Regions from separate parts of the Homo sapiens genome. Here region 2 is linked to region 1. Evidence: promoter capture Hi-C in human tissues and cell types (Jung and others, 2019). All regions are on one chromosome and are shown on one strand. Each heading gives the region's core, a stretch centred on a gene start or on the middle of the fragment in contact. The rest is flanking DNA. Distances are from core to core; before and after follow the strand shown. Region 1 holds the start of RPS6KB2 (ribosomal protein S6 kinase B2). Region 2 holds the start of TMEM134 (transmembrane protein 134).

What was found. The method cuts DNA at HindIII sites, captures the fragments that hold promoters and counts their contacts. A contact is called where the count stands out against the background at its distance.
Region 2: the fragment with the promoter of TMEM134 here is called in contact with the fragment with the promoter of RPS6KB2 in region 1 in 1 of the 25 tissues and cell types used here (spleen).

What each region holds. Positions count from the first base shown.
Region 1 is chr11:67,425,859-67,429,743 of GRCh38, forward strand. It overlaps RPS6KB2 (ribosomal protein S6 kinase B2), which reads left to right and starts at 2,636. Exons shown (of 15, transcript NM_003952.3): 1 at 2,636-2,765; 2 at 3,124-3,164; 3 at 3,262-3,382; 4 at 3,669-3,737. The coding sequence starts at 2,688. RefSeq lists enhancers at 2,180-2,329, 2,346-3,113, 2,430-2,679, 3,114-3,881. The HindIII fragment of the contact is 10,585 bases long and covers 1-3,885 here.
Region 2 is chr11:67,468,001-67,474,047 of GRCh38, forward strand. It overlaps TMEM134 (transmembrane protein 134), which reads right to left and starts at 1,251. Exons shown (of 7, transcript NM_025124.4): 1 at 1,019-1,251; 2 at 28-92. The coding sequence starts at 1,192. RefSeq lists silencers at 836-975, 1,186-1,325 and enhancers at 863-1,487, 1,476-1,655. The HindIII fragment of the contact is 18,331 bases long and covers 1-6,047 here.

The sequences.
Region 1 (3,885 bases), core at 1,386-3,885:
TCTGCATGCCTGGAGACCCCTGAATTCTGTCCACCTCAGTTCATACCCAACCTCCCCTATGCACATGGAAGGCACACCTAGACAGCCTCCAACAATCAGAACTCACACCCAAGGCCTGGTCTGACCCAAATTCACACCCACACATCCCCATCCAATAAGAATCCATACCCAATCTTTTTTTTTTTTTTTGAGACAGTTTCACTCTTGCTGCCCAGGCTGGAGTGCAATGGCACAGTCACGGCTCACTGAAACCTCTGCCTCCCGGGTTTAAGTGATTCTTCTGCCTCAGCCTCTCAAGTAGCTGGGATTACAGGCACCCACCACCACACCCAGCTAATTTTTGTATTTTTAGTAGAGACGGGGTTTCACCATGTTGGCCAGACTGGTGTCGAACTCCTGACCTCAAGCGATCCACCCGGCTCGACCTCCCAAAGTGCTAGGGTTGCAGGTGTGAGCCACCGCGCCCCGCCAAATCCATACCCAATCTAAAGTCACAGACCACATGTCACAGACAAGATTTGCTGTGTTGAGTGTGTTCATTCCTTCTTTCTTTTTTTTTCTTTTTTTGGAGACGGAGTCTCACTCTGTTGCCCAGGCTGTAGTGCAATGGCGTGATCTTGATTCACTGCAACCTCTGCCTCCCAGGTTCAAGCGATTTTCCTACCTCAGCCTCCCAAGTAGCTGGGACTATAGGCATGCACCACCACTCCCGGCTAATTTTTGTATTTTTAGTAGAGACAGGTTTTCACTATGTTGGTTAAGCTGGTCTTGAACTCCTGACCTCAAGTGATCCACCCGCCTTGGCCTCCCAAATTGCTGGGATCGCAGGCATGAGCGACCCTGCCTGGCCTAAGTTCATTCTGTCAACAGCGTTTTTGGTTTTTGCTGGGTGTAGTGGCTCATGCCTGTAATCACAGCACTTTGGAAGGCCAAGGCAGGAGGATCACTTGAGTCCAGAAGTTCAAGACCAGCCTCCTGGGCAACAAAACAAGACCTCCCCTCTAAAAAAAAAAAAAAAGAAAGAAAGAAAGAAAAGAAAAAAGATTATGTGATTATGTCATTCCAGTTACTTGGGATTTGAGGTGGGAGAATCACTGGAACCCAAGAAGTCAAGGCTGCAATGAGCCACGATCTTGCCACTGTACTCCAGCCTGGGTGACAGAGTAAGATCCTGTCTGAAAAACTAAACAAAACAAAGAAAAAAAAACCATAAAGTTTTTTTTTTTTTTTTTTTTTTTTTTTTTTTTTTTTTTAAGATGGAGTCTCGCTCTTGTTGCCCAGGCTGGAGTACAATGGCATGATCTTGGCTCACCGCAACCTCCGCTTCCCAGGTTCAAGTGATTCGCCTGCCTCAGCCTTCCCGAGTAGCTGGGATTACAAGCATGCACCACCATGCCCAGCTAATTTTGTGTTTTTAGTAGAGACGGGGTTTCTCCATGTTGGTCAGGCTGGTCCTGAACTCCCGACCTCAGGTGATCCGCCTGGCTCGGCCTCCCAAAGTGCTGGGATTACAGGTGTGAGCCACCGTGACCAGCCAGGTTTTCGGGTTTTATCTGTTTGAGACTTGGTCTCACTCTGCCGCCCAGCCTGGAGCGCAGTGGTGCAATCTTGGCTCACTGCAACCTCTATCGCCCGAGTTCAAGCGATTCTCCTGCCTCAACCTCCCGAGTATCTGGGAGTACAGGTGCGCGCCACCACACCCGTCTAATTTTTTGTATTTATAGTAGAGGCAGAGTTTCATCATGTTGGCCAGGCTGGTCTCCAACTTCTGACCTCAAGTGATCCACCCACCTCGGCCTCCGAAAGTGTTGAGATTACAGGTGTGAGCCACCGCCTCCGGCCTGTTTGTTTTTTTGAGACAGGATCTCACTGTGTCACCCAGCCTGGAGTGCAGTGGCACCATCATAGCTCACTGTAACCTTGAACTCCTGGCCTCAAGTGATCCTCCCAACTTGGCTTCCCAAAGTGCTACGATTACAGGCGTGAGGCATCGTGTCCGGCCTCAACAACGTTTTTTGAAGTGTCTATTCTGTACCAGGTGCCTAAATGTGCTTAAATTAAGAAGGGAGTAAACGCCAACAAAATCCCATATTTACAGGTCTATCACTGACCCCCAAAACCCTATTTAAGGCGGGAACCTGGCAACATAGCCTGGCAGTGAGCTGGCCACTCAGTAAATGCTCCGATTTGCAGGGTCCTCGAGCCAGAGGCACTTTGAGGAGACCCTGATGCAGCCGCCTCCCTTTCTGGAGTGAACCGAAAGCAACGCGACCTGCCTTTCATCACGCAGCCGGCCTGGCAGTACCCGTCTCCAACAGGGCTGGGGATTGCATTTACATTCACACCTGCATACACTTCCGACCCTGCTCCATCCAAACTCAAAACACCGTAGAACCAAAACGGGCTCCCAGAAAGCCTTGCTGGGAAGACCGAGGGTCCTGCGGAAAGGATTCTGCAGGCTGAAGGCTAGGCGCCTCGCCACTCTAGGACTACAATTCCCGAGAGGCCTTGCGACGGAAGCCATCTTTGTTCCCCACCAGGCTAAGCGATTTTCCGGAGGGGGAGTAAGATCCCTTGCGTCACCGGCGCGCGCAGCTGCCGTCGCGGAGAGATGATGTTTAGGTCCGGGACTGTCAGTCAGTGCGCGGCCAGGTACGGGCCGACGGGCCCGCGGGGCCGGCGCCGCCATGGCGGCCGTGTTTGATTTGGATTTGGAGACGGAGGAAGGCAGCGAGGGCGAGGGCGAGCCAGAGCTCAGCCCCGCGGTGAGTGCCCTGCCCTGGCGCGACTGGATCCTGGAGCCGATCCTGTCACCCAGCCGAGGCCGGAGCGGCGGCTCCGCACGCCCAGAGCGGGCTCCGACTCTTTGCAGACCCAGATCCTTCTCAGATCCCGGTCTCTATTAAGTTCTGATCCCACCCTCACCCCGACCTCTCTTCCAGAACCCCAGCCTTTTCTCCCGATTCTCCCTTTCCTGCCTTCGGTTTCTTCCCAATTCTTACCCATCCCCTACTAGCTGCCATCCCTGACACCCTTCTCTCCTGGGCCACGCAGTCCAACCTGAACGGGAGCGGGGAGGTATCCTGGCACCTTCCTTGGCTCTTACCCCTCGGTTTCTCACAGGACGCATGTCCCCTTGCCGAGTTGAGGGCAGCTGGCCTAGAGTGAGTGAGGGTCGTGTTGGGGGAGGGGGGAATGGAGTGGGGAAGGGGAACTGGGGAGCACTGGAGCCTTGTCCTCATTAACTCCTTGTGTCCGTAGGCCTGTGGGACACTATGAAGAGGTGGAGCTGACTGAGACCAGCGTGAACGTTGGCCCAGAGCGCATCGGGCCCCACTGCTTTGAGCTGCTGCGTGTGCTGGGCAAGGGGGGCTATGGCAAGGTAGGGGCGGGCGCACCCTCCTCCTGGCCTCACAGCCTCCATCTGGAGGCAGCAAAGGGTTCTCAAAACAAATTAGACTTGTGAATCAGCAGGGCCTCTAATGGGATTCAGAGCCAGAAACATAAAGGAGGGAAGGCCAAATCCTCTCCAATCGGACTTGAAATCTTCACTGCCCCACCCTTGGCAGGGCCTAGGCCTCCTGATCCCAAAGCCAGAGCTTCAGGGTGGGGCTTCTTGAAGATAGGATGTGGAGAGGGAAGTTGATCCTGTCTCCCCTGCCCTACAGGTGTTCCAGGTGCGAAAGGTGCAAGGCACCAACTTGGGCAAAATATATGCCATGAAAGTCCTAAGGAAGGTGAGTCACTCGTTCAGCCAACGAATACTGTGTGGCTGCCATTCCCAACATGCTGTACCAGGCTTTGGGAAGACAGCAGGGAACACAGTGGAGGAGGATCCCTGACTTTGGCGTTTGCTGGTTTATTGTCTGTTGTGATGTGTATTGT
Region 2 (6,047 bases), core at 1-2,500, 41 kb after region 1:
AGGGTTGGGTCCCCACCTGGCCCTAACCTGGTGCCGACTCCCCCATCCGGCTCCGGAGAGGCCTGGGCTCCATCCTCATCGTTCTCCAGGTTCTGTTGCAGAACACAGGTCTCAGGGGGGTTGCTGGGCTGGGGCCCTTCCTCACTCCCTCCCGGGAAGAGAAAAGCAGGCCTACACAACCATTTGCCTGGCCGCCTGGCAGCTGTTCACCTGGCCCTCTGCCCTCCCCGCAGAACGGGTTTGGTGATTCACAGAAACCAGGTAGGAGGTGGGTGGATGCCAGGGCTTTGGGGAGCAGGAGCCTGCATAGATCCCAGGGAAAGGAGAGCTCCCAACTTTGGGTTAGGGTGGAGCTCTCATTCAGTGGCCTAGAATGGGAGCTTGGGAATTGGGGTGCCAGGAAAGGCCAGGCCCAGAGTTCCCAGGTTCAAGGCACAGGGTTCTGGTCCAGGTCTCCAAGAAAAGCAGCCTAGGGTTGGTGGAGGTTTTCTGGGAAAATGGGTTTTTCTGGTTTAGTGGGAGCCAAAGGGTGGGCAAGGACTGGTCATGTGAGAGGAGCTCCAGCTCTTAGGGGTGGTGGTGGGATTAGGGAGAGGGCTTTCAGAATAGAGAAAGGCGTGCGGGTTCCCATCAGCTTAGCTGGCCTGGGGCACAGGGGATGCTCCTGCGTGTGGGGCAAGGTCTGGTTCAGATACAGAGGAGCTCCCCCAACCCAGCGGGGGCCAGGTGCGAGTAGCCAGGATGAGTGGGGAATCCGGTTGGGTTCCCCAGCTGGAGCTGAGGGATGAGCTCCCGGGCCCGGGCACTGGGCTCTTCCCGGCTGGCTGGGGCCCGGTATGGGAACCGGGAGGGCCTGGGCAGGGCTCTGGATCAAGAGTCACGTCCGCGGGGCGGGGGGGCGGTCTCGCGCTTCAGCTGGGGCCTCTAGGCAGATGCTTCCCCGAGTTGAGGCCTTTGGGGCCCGGCCTGGGGTCCCGTCCGGCCGGGGGCAGGGGGTTAGGTGGGCCGGGCGGTTCACCTGGTAGCGCAGCCGGGACTGCTTGTCCTCGTCAGCCACCTCGAACCGGGCCCGACGCTCGAAGTGCAGCGGCCCAAAGCGCGCGACCCCGCTGGACTCGGGCCCAGGGCCCCCGTCCTCCAGGGACAGCTCGAAGGCATCATCAATGCTGAACTGGGGCCGGGCGGCGCTCATGGCCCCGGCCCGCTCAGGCGCCGTGCGCCGCCGCCATCTGCGCCCACACACCCAGCGTCGCCGCTGCCCCGCCCCCGCATGCCCCGCCCCTCCGACCCTGGCTCCGCCCCACGCGCCGGTCCCGCCCCCGTCCGCCCTAAGCAGGCCAGAGTTGCCGAGCCCTGAGCGGGCTGATGGGTGGGAGCCTCTTCCAGACGGAGCGCGCCCGCCCCGTGACGCCACTCAGTGGCCGCCATGGCAAGCGACAGCCCGTGCCGGGCTCGGACACATCCCCCAGGCGTGTATGTGCGGGGGCTTGGAGGGGCTTCCACGCCCCAACCTCCAGGTCCCTGACAGGGCCTTTTGCACCGCAGCCTGTTCCTCGAGTGCCAAGGAGACTCCTGGGAACTGTTTCCCCACCTTACTCACAACAGCCCCGCACCGGAGGGGTGCTCTCCCCATTTTTGCAAATGTGGAAACCGAGGCTCAGAGAGCTTATGTGTCTTCCAATTTCCAGTCAGTCTCCACGCAGCAGCCGAAGTGATCTTTTAAAACAAATCTTTTTATCTGCGTGTGTTATTCTGAAAACCCTTTTTAAAAATTTTGCTGCTGGCCTGGCTCGGTGGCTCACTCCTGTAATCCCAGCACTTTGGGAGGCCGAGGCGGGTGGATCACTTGAGGTCAGGAGTTCAAGACCAGCCTGGCCAAAAGGCGAAACCCCGTCTTTACTAAAAATACAAAAATTAGCCGGGCGTGGTAGTGCATGCCTATAGTCCCAGCTACTTGGGAGGCTGAGGCAGAAGAATTGCTTGAACCCGGGAGGCAGATGTTGCAGTGAGCCGAGATTGAGCCACTGCACTCCAGCCTGGGCGACAGAGCAAGACTCCGTCTCAAAAAACAAAACAAAACAAACAAAAAAACCTTCCCTTGGTTTTCCATTGCACTTAGAATAAAATCTGAACTCTTGGCAGGGCACGGTGGCTCACACTTTGGGAGGCCAAGGAGAGTGGATCACTTGAGGTCAGGAGTTTGAGACCAGCCTGGCCAACATGGTGAAACCCAGTCTCTACTAAAAATACAAAAATTAGCTGGGCACGGTGACCAGTGCCTGTAATCCCAGCTACTTGGGAGGCTGAGGCAGGAGAATCGCTTGTACCCTGGAGGCAGAGGTTGTAGTGAGTGGAGATCACACCACTGCACTCCAGCCTGGGCAACAGAGCAAGACTCCATAAAAAAAAAATGAACCGTGGTGGGGGGCGGTGGGGGTGGAAGAGCAGAAGTACTCTATGAATTAGGTGGACCTGGTTTCAAATCCCCATTCTACCACTTGTAAGTACTTGGGACTTTGGCAAACCCCTCATTCATTTCTGCCACAAGTATTTATTAAGCATCTATTTAGGGCCAAACACTGTTTTGGGCACTATAGATACAGTGGTGAATAAAACAGTGCAAAATGAGACAGTTTCAAGTGCTGTGTGATGCAAAACTGACTTTAGATTTCGTACTCAAAGATGACCTTTCCAAGAGGTGACATTTGAGCAGGAATGCCGATGATGAAGGAGCCAGCTGTGAGAAAAGCAAGGTTCAGTGTTTTCCTGGCACCAGGGAACAGCACGTTCAAAGGCCAGGAGGTGGGAAGGAGCTTGGCCTGTGGAGGAAGAATGTGAGAAAACCAGTGTGGCTGAGCAGCAAGGAAAGGGGCAGGCCGACTTGATGAGCCTGGGAGGAGTAGATGGGCCCCAGAGCCTTGAGAGCTTTATGGACCTTAGTCAAGAGTTCTTTTTTGTTTTTGTTTTTTTCGACACAGGGTCTCGCTCTGTTGCCCAAGCTGGAGTGCGATCTCAGCTCACTGCAACCTCCACCTCCTGGGTTCAAGTGATTCTCCTGCCTCAGCCTCCCGAGGAGGCTGGGATTACAGGCATGAGCCACAGTGCCCTGCCTTATTATTATTATTATTATTATTATTATTTTTGAGACAGAGTCTCGCACCGTCACCCGGGCTGGAGTGCAGTGGCAAGATCTCGGCTTGCTGCAACCTCCGCCCCCTGGGTTCAAGCGATTCTCCTGCCTCAGCCTCCCCTGTAGCTAGGATTACAGGCGTGATCTGCCCACCTCGGCCTCCCAAGGTGCTGGGTATGAGCCACCACACCCGGCCTCATGTTCATTTTATGGCCTCATGTACAGAGCTGAGTCAAGTCTACTTCTGTTTGTTACACATCAACACTATGAATAAGGCCCCTCTCGAGTTATGTTAATTCACTTACCCTCTTTCACTTCCCAGGTTCCTTCCTCTCCCCTGCCTTCCATCAGACCCATGTCAGCATGCTCAGTCGGCGTCCTTAAAGCCTGCCTGGCTCTGTACCATGTATGGCACTGTCTCCTATGTGGATGTGTTTGCAATTTACAAACATGATGTCATGCAGAAAATTCAGTTCTGTTACTTACACGTTTACATTTTTGCTCTCGATGCTGTTTTCCATATGCATTTGTTTATTGTTTCTACAGGCTACATGCATGTTGTACCATGTTGAGTGTCTAGCACCTTTATGATCCACCTCACCTCCACAGTGTTGTACACTCAAACTGGCCTCAACCCCGCCATCACAGGCATCACTGCAGTTAACATCTTCCTGCTGTCCCCTTATGGACTGTGGGAGAATTCCCCTTGGGGTAGGATTTCCAGGTTATAGGGCACACGCACTCATGACTTCACAGGGTACCACAGATGCTCTCCTGAGTGGCTGTGAGAGTTGACACTCCACCTGAGGCTTCTGGTTCTCTCAGGACTTGGTACCATCCAACTTTTTAATGGCTTGCCGATCTGATGAATTTAAAGTGGTACCTCATGTTCCTCTGGGTTCTCTGATGGCTGGAGAGTTTGAGCTGCTCTTTGTGCCCTTGTCAGCCATTGGGTGTCCCTTGTCTGTGAACTGGCTTTTCATATCTTTGGTCTTTCTTTTTGCTATTGGGTTTCTAGCCTTTTTCCACTAATTTGCATATCAACATATCTAATCATTAATTCCTTGCTGGTTTATGACCTTGCACATATTTCCTATCTGTCTGTCTTTGACTCTTTGTCTAACATGCTCTCAAAGAATAATCACTCCTTTTCAGGCTGGGTGCAGTGGCTCATGTCTGTAATCCCAGCACTTTGGGGAAGCTGAGGCAGGAGGATCACTTGAGGCCAGGAATTCAAGATCAGCCTCAGCGTAGCAAGGCTGATGCAGGGCAGGTGATCCCCAAAATTGGGGCTTAGCCCAAGAGAGTGCTTGGCTTCACCTGGGAAAGAATTCAAGGGTGAGCTGGTGGTGTTAGACAGCAACTTAAACATTTTTTAAAATTTTTTATTTTTTTAAGACTGAGCCTTGCTCTGTCGCCCAGGCTGGAGTGCAGTGGTGTGATCTCGGCTCACTGCAATCTCTGCCTCTTGGGTTCAAGCGATTCTTCTGCCTCAGCCTCCCAAGTGGCTTGGATTACAGGCGTCTGCCACCACGCCCAGCTAATTTTTGTATTTTTAGTAGAGACAGGATTTCGCCATTTTGGCCAGGCTGGTCTCCATCTTCTGACCTCAGTTGATCTGCCCACTTCAGCCTCCCAAAGTGCTGGGATTACAGGCGTGAGCCACCGTGCCTGGCCTTATTTTTTACTTATTGGAAAGCAACTTTTACAGAAGCAGCAGCGCACAGCAGCAGCACAGGCGTCGCTCCTTGTGGAGCAGGGCCATCCCACAGGCAGTGTGCCCCCAGCAGCTGCTCAGAGGCAGTTCTGCAGCCATATTTATGCCCACTTTTAATTACATGCAAATTGAGGGGTGAATTATCCAGAAATTTCTAGGGAAAGAGTGGTAACTTCTGGGCCGTCAGGTCATTGCCACCGAAGGGGGTGGTAACTTCTAGGTGTTGCCATGGCAATGGTAAACTGACATGCACTGGTCTTACGGGTCTTAGGTCTTATGGAGAGGTGCTTTCACCTCTTCCCTGTTTTATTTTTTTGAGACGGAGTCTCCCTCTGTTGTCCAGGCTGGAGTGCAGTGGCACGATCTAGGCTCACTGCAACCTCCACCTCCTGGGTTCAAGCGATTCTCTGCCTCAGCCTCCGGAGTAGCTGGGATTACAGGCATCCGCCACTACACCCAGCTAAGTTTTGTATTTTTAGTAGAGATGGTGTTTTACCATGTTGGCCAAACTGGTCTCAAATTCCTGGCCTCAAGTGATCCACCTGCCTCACCCTCCCAAAGTGCTGGGATTACAGGCATGAGCCACCATGCGCAGCATTCCCTGTTTTAGCTAGTTCTCAATCTGGTCTGGTGTCTGTGTCCCACCTCCAGAGCTGAGTCCTGCCACCTACCTCATTCCTCGCTCAGAGATTAGATACTCCTTCTTAATCTTAAGAGGGCAGCGGAAGGGCAGAGATCCATCTTCTGTAACTGCTTCCTGTTGAGTTTATGGGCATAGCCCCTTCCTAGCACTGGAGAGGTAAAAATCTCCAGATACCCGGTCGGGTGCAGTGGCTCATGCCTGTAATCCCAGAACTGTGGGAGGCTGAGGCGGGTGGATCACAAGGTCAGGAGGTCGAGACCATCCAGGCCAACATGGTGAAACCCTGTCTCTACCATCCTGGCTAACACAGTGAAACCCCATCTCTACTAAAAATACAAAAAATTAGCTGGGCGTGGTGGCAGGCCCCTGTAGTCCCAGCTACTTGGGAGGCTGAGGCAGGAGAACGGCGTGAACCCGGGAGGTGGAGGTTGCAGTGAGCTGAAATCGCGCCACTGCACTCCAGCTTGGGCGACAGAGCGAGACTCCGTCTCAAAAAACAAACGAACAAAAAAAAGAAACCCCGTCTCTACTAAAAATACAAAAATTAGCTGGGCATG